2 separate regions of the Homo sapiens genome follow, and region 2 is linked to region 1. The links are contacts of gene promoters, found by promoter capture Hi-C in human tissues and cell types (Jung and others, 2019). All regions are on one chromosome and are shown on one strand. Each heading gives the region's core, a stretch centred on a gene start or on the middle of the fragment in contact. The rest is flanking DNA. Distances are from core to core; before and after follow the strand shown. Region 1 holds the start of CCDC8 (coiled-coil domain containing 8 subunit of 3M complex). Region 2 has its middle 48 kb from the start of PNMA8B.

What was found. The method cuts DNA at HindIII sites, captures the fragments that hold promoters and counts their contacts. A contact is called where the count stands out against the background at its distance.
Region 2: a fragment that was not itself captured here is called in contact with the fragment with the promoter of CCDC8 in region 1 in 1 of the 25 tissues and cell types used here (dorsolateral prefrontal cortex).

The regions. Positions count from the first base shown.
Region 1 is chr19:46,411,270-46,415,651 of GRCh38, reverse strand. It overlaps CCDC8 (coiled-coil domain containing 8 subunit of 3M complex), which reads left to right and starts at 2,088. Exons shown (of 1, transcript NM_032040.5): 1 at 2,088-4,382. The coding sequence starts at 2,842. RefSeq lists enhancers at 1-380, 381-1,214, 2,881-3,714. The HindIII fragment of the contact is 10,715 bases long and covers 1-4,382 here.
Region 2 is chr19:46,541,885-46,546,266 of GRCh38, reverse strand. It overlaps the pseudogene PPP5D1P. Among named protein-coding and RNA genes, the nearest start is that of PNMA8B, 48 kb to the right of the region's middle. The HindIII fragment of the contact is 3,360 bases long and covers 594-3,953 here.

The DNA of each region.
Region 1 (4,382 bases), core at 839-3,338:
TCAAAAGAGTAGAGACAGATCGGACCTAAGTTTTTAAAAGATGCCCCCAGCTTCTGGATGGGGCCTGGATTGCAAGCAGTGATGGGGAGGCGGGAAGCCCAGTGAGGGGGCTTTGTACACATCCAGGCAAGAGTGGCTGCAAGTATTGTGGCTGCTAAGTGGTTAAATGGTGCAACACATTTAGGAGAAGGGGATTAGCTGTGTCTTTAGCGTCAGCTAGTGTTTTAAATGCTAGTGCCCAAGATCTGGTTCTAATATTATATTAGATCCACCACTCAGAGCTGTGCAACTTCAGACCAGCCTCAGTTTCACCGTCTGTAAAAAGATGATTGATGGCACTGGCCTTACCATGTACCTCTGAGGGTTCCTAACAACGAGGCCTATTCAACATGTCTCTGGATGCCTGGTTCCAAAGATGTGGACCAATGCTAGTCGCATGTCCTGTAGCAGGAGGAGCCACGGACAAAACCCCTCAGACACTGGGTTAAGGAAGGATTTGGCTTTTTCGGCCGGGAGCTTCGGCAGACTCGCCTCTCAACTGGCGGGAGCTTCGGTAGACTCGCGTCTCAAGAACCGAGCTCCCGGCCGAATGCGACTAGCATTGGTTCACATCTTGATTCTTTTTTTTCTTTCTTTCTTTCTTTTTTTTTTTTTGAGACGGAGTCTTGCTCTGTCGTCCAGGCTGGAGTGCAGTGGTGCGATCGCGGCTCACTGCAACCTCCGCCTCCCGGGTTCAAGAGATTCTTCTGCCTCAGCCTCCCGAGTAGCTGGGACTACAGGCACGTACCACCACGCGCGGCTAATTTTTTTGCATTTTTAGTAGAGACAGGGTTTCACCGCGTTAGCCAGGATGGTCTTGTCTTGATCTCCTGACCTCGTGATCTGCCCGCCTCAGCCTCCCAAAGGGCTGGGATTACAGGCGTGAGCCACCGCGCCTGGCCATCTTGACTCTTTGGTCGACACAAAAGGCAGACTATTCTGGATTCAAATCCAAACTCAACCACTCCCCATGGCTGTGACCTTGAGAGTGTGGTTTTATGTCCTTGGGCCTCAGTTTCCTCAGCTGTCTAATGGGAATTGTACTCATGCTACCAGTCTCCTGTTATAGCAAGGATTTCCTGAGTTCATTCATAGAAAGCACTGGGAATGGTGCCTACTACATAGGAAGCGCCTCATAAACCGTGCCTATCCTTAGCCATCTCATTCTTTTTTCGAAGTTGCAAAATATTTCACTGTAAGATACTACCATAAAATAGAGGCAGTCTCTACTCGTGAACTTTTAGGGTTTTTTGTTGTTGTTTATTTGTAGGGGTTTTTTTGCACTTTTGTTTTTTTGAGACAGTCTCCCTCTGTTGCGCAGGCCGGAGTGCAGTGGCGCGATCTCTGCAACCTCCACCTCCCAGGTTCACGCCATTCTCCTGCCTCAGCCTCTCGCGTAGCTTGGGACTACGCACGCGCACCACCACACCCGGGGTAGAGACGAGGGTTTCACCATGTTGGGCAGGCTGGTCTCGAACTCCTGGCCTCAAGTGTTCCACCCACCTGGGCCTCCCAAAGTGCTGGCATTACAGGCATGAGCCACCGCGCCTGGCCATGAACATTTGGGTTTATTCATCCCCTCAAAAATATGTATTGAGCCCTGACCTGCCAAGCGCCACAGTGGGACTGTTGCAGTCAGGTACCCATTTCTCTACCCACGCATATAGGTGTACGGGTACCGATAGTCGCGTGAATTTAAAATGCTAATCTGTGGTGCCAGTGGCTCTCAAAAAGTAGAATCCACTAGCACACCCACCTCCCGGACTTGGCTGGAAACTTGCACATTTCGGATGGCAGGTTTGGGAACCGCTGCCTTTCAGGAAAGGTGCTGACGTGGGCCACTGCCGCTTCGCTGGGAAGCAATGGGCCCAGCTAGGCCCGGGGCGCGGCCACACCCCTGTGGGGGAGGGGAAGGAGGCCGCCCCGAAGGGAGTGGACAGCCCCCCTGTCAGTCTTCCAGAGTCTGGGAGTGTAAGATGAGACGGGGGAAGGTGGGCCTCATTCTGGCGGAGGGCGAGGAGGAACTTCCTGCCCGCGCGCTCCACGGTGCAGAGCTCTAAGCGCGCGGGCTGGCAGGCTGCGGCGCGTCAAGGTCAGCCTGGAGCTGGGTGGCGGCCTGCCTGGGGGCGGGGGACCCTACTGGAGGCCCGGGCTGGGGCCTCCCAGCGCCTCGGCCATATTGAATAGCTTCGACTGGACCGTCTTTGTCTGCGAAGTCCTGTCCCAAGTTCCAGCCGCGTCCCTGGGGCCTGGGGCAGGAAGAGTCGCTGGCAGCCCGCGCGCCCCAACTTGGAGCTGGGACACCACGTTTCCAGCTTGGAGTGGGCCTTGAGCCTTGGGACTGACCTCGCCCCCGGCTCACGTAGGCATCCTGGAAATTGATTCCCCCAAGTCCTTGGTGGGGGAGCCGGACTTGGTCAAGACTGTACTTGTTGCAGGCGAAGAGATTGGAGGCGTTTGGCTCGTCCCTGGCTAGGGAGGTGAGACTCTCCGGTCAGCGTTGCTGGAACTCCCCCCATCCAGTCCCTCCCTCAAGACTAAGGGCTACAGTAGTTTGTTGGGGCTCATTGCCCCCTCACCCCAGATATCACCCTGGAGATCTTAAAGACTCTCGAGAAAAGCCACGTGGGGGGCTGGTTCCCCTGGGGCTTCCTGCCGTCCCCCGACTGCCTCATTCTTTGGAGCGTCCCCGATGTCTGCAAAGATGTGGATTTGGACGTCCTCGTGGAAGCCCTAAAGCCCGTGGGGACATTTAAGAAGATCGGCAAGGTGTTCCGCAAGGAGGAGGACTCCACGGTGGGGATGCTGCAGATCGGGGAGGACGTCGACTATTTGCTCATCCCCCGGGAGGTCAGGCTGGCTGGGGGCGTCTGGAGAGTCATCTCTAAGCCCGCCACCAAGGAAGCAGAATTTCGGGAGCGGCTGACCCAGTTCCTGGAAGAAGAGGGCCGCACCCTGGAGGACGTGGCCCGCATCATGGAGAAGAGCACCCCGCACCCGCCCCAGCCCCCCAAAAAGCCCAAGGAGCCCCGAGTGAGGAGGAGAGTGCAGCAGATGGTGACTCCTCCGCCCCGGCTGGTCGTGGGCACGTACGACAGCAGCAACGCCAGCGACAGCGAGTTCAGCGACTTCGAGACCTCCAGAGACAAGAGCCGCCAGGGCCCGCGGCGGGGCAAGAAGGTGCGCAAAATGCCCGTCAGCTACCTGGGCAGCAAGTTCCTGGGAAGCGACCTGGAGAGTGAGGATGATGAGGAACTGGTCGAGGCCTTCCTCCGGCGACAGGAGAAGCAGCCCAGCGCGCCGCCTGCCCGCCGCCGCGTCAACCTGCCAGTGCCCATGTTTGAGGACAACCTGGGGCCTCAGCTGTCCAAAGCGGACAGGTGGCGGGAGTATGTCAGCCAGGTGTCCTGGGGGAAGCTGAAGCGGAGGGTGAAGGGTTGGGCGCCGAGGGCGGGCCCCGGGGTGGGCGAGGCCCGGCTGGCCTCCACCGCAGTGGAGAGCGCAGGGGTATCATCGGCGCCAGAGGGCACCAGCCCGGGGGATCGCTTGGGAAACGCGGGAGATGTTTGTGTGCCCCAGGCTTCCCCTAGGCGATGGAGGCCCAAGATCAACTGGGCCTCCTTTCGGCGCCGCAGGAAGGAGCAGACAGCACCCACAGGTCAGGGGGCAGACATCGAGGCTGATCAGGGGGGAGAGGCTGCAGATAGTCAAAGGGAAGAGGCCATAGCTGACCAGCGGGAAGGGGCTGCAGGTAATCAGAGGGCAGGGGCCCCAGCTGACCAGGGGGCAGAGGCTGCAGATAATCAGAGGGAAGAGGCTGCAGATAATCAGAGGGCAGGGGCCCCAGCTGAGGAGGGGGCAGAGGCTGCAGATAACCAGAGGGAAGAGGCTGCAGATAATCAGAGGGCAGAGGCCCCAGCTGACCAGAGGTCACAGGGCACAGATAACCACAGGGAAGAGGCTGCAGATAATCAGAGGGCGGAGGCCCCAGCTGACCAGGGGTCAGAGGTTACAGATAATCAAAGGGAAGAGGCCGTACATGACCAGAGGGAAAGGGCCCCAGCTGTCCAGGGTGCAGATAATCAGAGGGCACAGGCCCGGGCTGGCCAGAGGGCAGAGGCTGCACATAATCAGAGGGCAGGGGCCCCAGGTATCCAGGAAGCTGAAGTCTCAGCTGCCCAAGGGACCACAGGAACAGCTCCAGGAGCCAGGGCCCGGAAACAGGTCAAGACAGTGAGGTTCCAGACCCCTGGACGCTTTTCGTGGTTTTGCAAGCGCCGGAGAGCCTTCTGGCACACTCCCCGGTTGCCAACCCTGCCCAAGAGAGTCCCCAGGGCAGGAGA
Region 2 (4,382 bases), core at 1,024-3,523, 130 kb before region 1:
GTTTTTATTGTTTAAGCTACACTATTGTCTTACAATAAGATGGCCAGTGAATTTTTGTTTCTCCTTTAGCCAGTTTGACTTAGATTTCTGTTGCTTGCAACTGAAAATGCCCTGATCATCATATGTAACATTGACTGCTTTTGATTTACTCATTCAGTAACTATTTATTGAAAATCCCACGCTGAGTGCTTTTTATTTATTTTTACTGTTTTTAATTATTTTTTTTTTATGAGATGGAGCCTAGGCTGGAGTGCAGTGGCTTGATTTCGGATCATTGCAACCTCCGCTTCCCGGGTTCAAGCAATTCTCATGCCTTAGCCTCCTGAGTAGCTGGGATTACAGGCATGCGCCACCATGCCTGGCTAATTTTTTTTTTTTTTGGATTTTTAGTAGAGACGGGGTTTTGCCATGTTGGCCAGGCTGGTCTTGAACTCCTGATCTCAGGTTATCTGCTCTCTTCTGCCTCCCAAACTGCTGGGATTATAGGCATGAGCCACCGCGCCCAGCCCCAGGTGCTTTTGAAAGCACTGGGCATACAGCAGTGAGTGAAGCAGTGAGTGAGTAAAAAGTTCCTGTCCTGTCCTTTCAGAGATTCTGATCTTTGTGTAAGGCAGCACACAATGAAGTATTTTAAAGACAAAATATCAGCAAATTCTCAAAGCAACTTTGAGAAGCAGACATCATTTTGAAATCCCATTCTACAGATAAGTGCGCTGAGGCTGCAGTAGCAAAGCTGGAGTTTGAACCTAGATCTGTGCGAGTCCAAAGGCTAAATTCTCTCTCTCTCTCTCTTTTTTTTTTTTTTTTTTTTGAGACAGAGTCTTGCTCTGTTGCCCAGGCTGGAGTACAGTAGTGCGATCTCAGTTCACTGCCACCTCTGCCTCCTGGGTTCAAGCGATTCTCCTCCCTCAGCCTCCTGAGTAGCTGGGATTACAGGTGCCTGCCACCATGCCCAGCTGATTTTTGTATTTTTAGCAGAGATGGGGTTTCACCATGTTGGCTAGGTTGGTCTTGAACTCCTGACCTCAAGTGAGCCTGCCTCGGCCTCCCAAAGTGCTGGGATTATAGGCACGAGCCACCACACATGACTCAAAGGCTAAACTCTTGAGAGTGGGCCATGCTGCCCCAAGAAGCTCCACTGGATTTATTTGAAGGTCCTTGCCAAATCAGTTGGGGAAAAAAAGGCAGATTCAGCCCATGGATCCTTAAGTACCACTCGAAGAGTGGCATGCTTTTCCCAAATGTCACCTTTTGTCTTTAAGGCAAAGGTGGTGCCAGATCTTCAGCTCTCATGTCTCCTGCACAAACTCTCCCAGGCGTGAGAAGAGACTCCACTCTGCAGAAACTCTGTCTCTAAGGGGGAAGTGACAGTCAGAGAAGGGAACAGGGATATTACTGAGGCCAGAAGGCCCCTCTCCCCTCAGTGAGGCCCACGCTCGTGCCCAAAGCCTGTCTGTCTTCCTAAATAATGCAGTGTGGAAGAGTAGAGGCTTTGCAGCCAAGCAGACAGGATTTCATAACCCTGGTTCCAGTACTTCCCAGTGTGTGATCTTGGACCATCAACTGGGCCTCTGAACCTCAATCTCCTCCTCTATAAAAGTGGCACAATGGCCGCAGGCGGTGGCTCACGCCTGTAATCCCAGCATTTTGGGAGGCCGAGGTGGGCGGATCACTTGAGGTCAGGAGTTTGAGACCAGCCTGGCCAACGTGGCGAAACACTGTCTCTACTAAAAATACAAAAATTAGCCGGGCGTGGTGGTGGGCACCTGTAATCTCAGCTATTCAGGAGGCTGAGGCAGGAGAATCACTTGAACCCAGGAGGCGGAGGTTGCAGTGAGCCGAGATAGTGCCATTGCACTCCAGCCTGGGCAACAAGAGCAGAACTCTATCTCAAATAAAACCCAGAAAACCAAAAAAAAAAAAAAAAAAAAAAACCCAAAACAAAACAAAAAGAAAAAACAAAAACAACAACAACAAAAAATGGCACAGTAATAGCTTAATTCCCAAGCTTGTTCAGGATTTTGTGGGTCAGGAATGTGAAAAGGGTTTGACTGGATGTTCATTTCTGTTCCACGTGGCATCATGTGATGAGGGCTGGAGGACCCACCTCCAAGATGGCTTCTTCACTCCCATGTCTGGAAGCTTCAATTCTCCTGGGCCTTCTCACAGCTCCATGCTCTTAGGGGAGCTGCAATTCTTTTTTTATTATTTATTTATTTATTTATTTGAGACGGAGTTTCGCTCTGTCGCCTAGGCTGGAGTGCAGTGGCCGCGATCTGGGCTCACTGAAAGCTCCACCTCCTGGGTTCACACCATTCTCTTGCCTCAGTCTCCCGAGTAGCTGGGACTGCAGGCGCCTGCCACCACGCCCGGCTAATTTTTGTATTTTTAGTAGAGACGGGGTTTCACCGTGTTAGCCAGGATGGTCACGATCTCCTGACCTCGTGATCCGCCGCCTTGGCCTCCCAAAGTGCTGGGATTACAGGCGTGAGCCACCGCGCCCGGCTGGGGAGTTGCAATTCTTACACAGTAGCCTGGGAGCCAAAGAGATCACGACGGAATCTGCTGGTTCCCTTAAAATGTAGATCCAGGCCTGGCGGTGTCACTTGTTTGTTTGTTTGTTTGTTTGTTTAGACAGGGTCTCGTTCTGTCACCCAGGCTGGAGTGCAGCGGCGCCATCATAGCTCACCGCAGCCTCTACCTCCTAGGCTCAAGGGATCCTCTTGCCTCAGCCTCCCGAGTAGCTGGGACTACAGGTGCGGGCCACCACGCCAGCCTATTTTTAAAAGTTATATTTTTGGCCGGGAGTGGTGGCTCACGCCTGTAATCCCAACAGTTTGGGAGGCGGAGGTGGGTGGAAGTCGGGAGTTCAAGACCAGCCTGACCAACATGGATATACCCTGTCTCTACTAAAAATACAAAATTAGCCACGTGCGGTGGCGGACCCCTGTCATTCCAGCTACTCGGGAGGCTGAGGCAGGAGAATCGCTTGAACCCAGGAGGCGGAGTCTGTGGTGAGCCGAGATCACGCCATTGCACTCCAGCCTGGGCGACAAGAGCGAAACTCCGTCTCACAACAAAACAAAAAAGTTATTTTTAGTAGAGTTGGGGTCTTTCTGTGTTGCCCAGGTTGGTCTTGCAGTCTTGGGATCAAGCGATCCGCCCACCTCTGCTTCTCGGTGTTGGAATTACAGGCGTGAGCCGCCATGCCCAGCACAGTGTCACATCTGTCATATTCTATGGGTCAAAGCAGTCAAGGGTTCTTTCTCAATCAGACTAAGACCAACAGGAACAAGCTTATTGTATTAATTTGCTAGGGCAGCCTTAACAGACAAGAAGGGAGGTGAGTCGCCTTTTAGTTTAAGTAGATACGGTCATGCTATTCTCTAATTGGCCACCAGATGGCGCGCTGGACTTACTATTAGTACAGTTTGTAATTGCCCTTCCGAGAGTGGCCACCGCCACTCAAGCGACTGGACACTGGACTAAGTGCTTCTGTTAATTTGGATAAGACAAGACTCTCACTTTCTTTGATAAAATATAAATCTAGAAGAGCCCTAGGCTTTTATTGCATCATGATCATGGAAGGAGAGAAATGATCCTTTTCTGATTTGCCAGAGAAAACCAACCAGTATTTATTCTTTAGGAAATACAGAGATGCTATTTAACCTCCTGGTCACCATAGCAACAAATAATCAAGGAAGACAACCAATCAGAATGCAGGTTTCTTTGGGAGGTTCTTTTTTTTTTTTTTCAGATATTGCAACAATTTCTAAAAAAATCTTAGACTCTTTTGTTCAAATTATCCTTTCAAGGAAAGACACAAATGAACAGAGTTAACAAATGAGGCTGGTAACAGGAAAATTAACTGGAGCTCCTGGCTGCACGGGAGAACAGAATGAATGTTTAGGGTATGTTCTCAATGTGCCACTCTATTAAAATTGATTTTTTTTTTTTTTTTTTTTTTTTTTGTAGACAGAGTCTTGCTCTGTCACCCAGGCTGGAGTGCAGTGGCGTGATCTCGGTTCAATGCAAACTTCGCCTCCCAGGTTCAAGCGATTTTCCTGCCTCAGCCTCCCGAGTAGCAGGGATGATAGGTGCCTGCCACCACGCCCGGCTAATTTTTTTGTATTTTTAGTAGGGATGGAGTTTCACCATGTTGGCCAGGCTGGTCTCAAACTCCTGACTTCAAGTGATCCGCCCTCCTCGGCCTCCTAAAGTGAAAAAACTAATTATTTAGAGCAATTTCATGATGCAGAATAGAACCCCTTCCTATACAGCTGCAAGAGAGAACGGGCTTTTTTTTTTTTATGTTTGAAAGCACTGACTTTGCTAAGCGTGGTGGCTCATGCCTGTAATCCCAACACTGGGAATCTGAGATG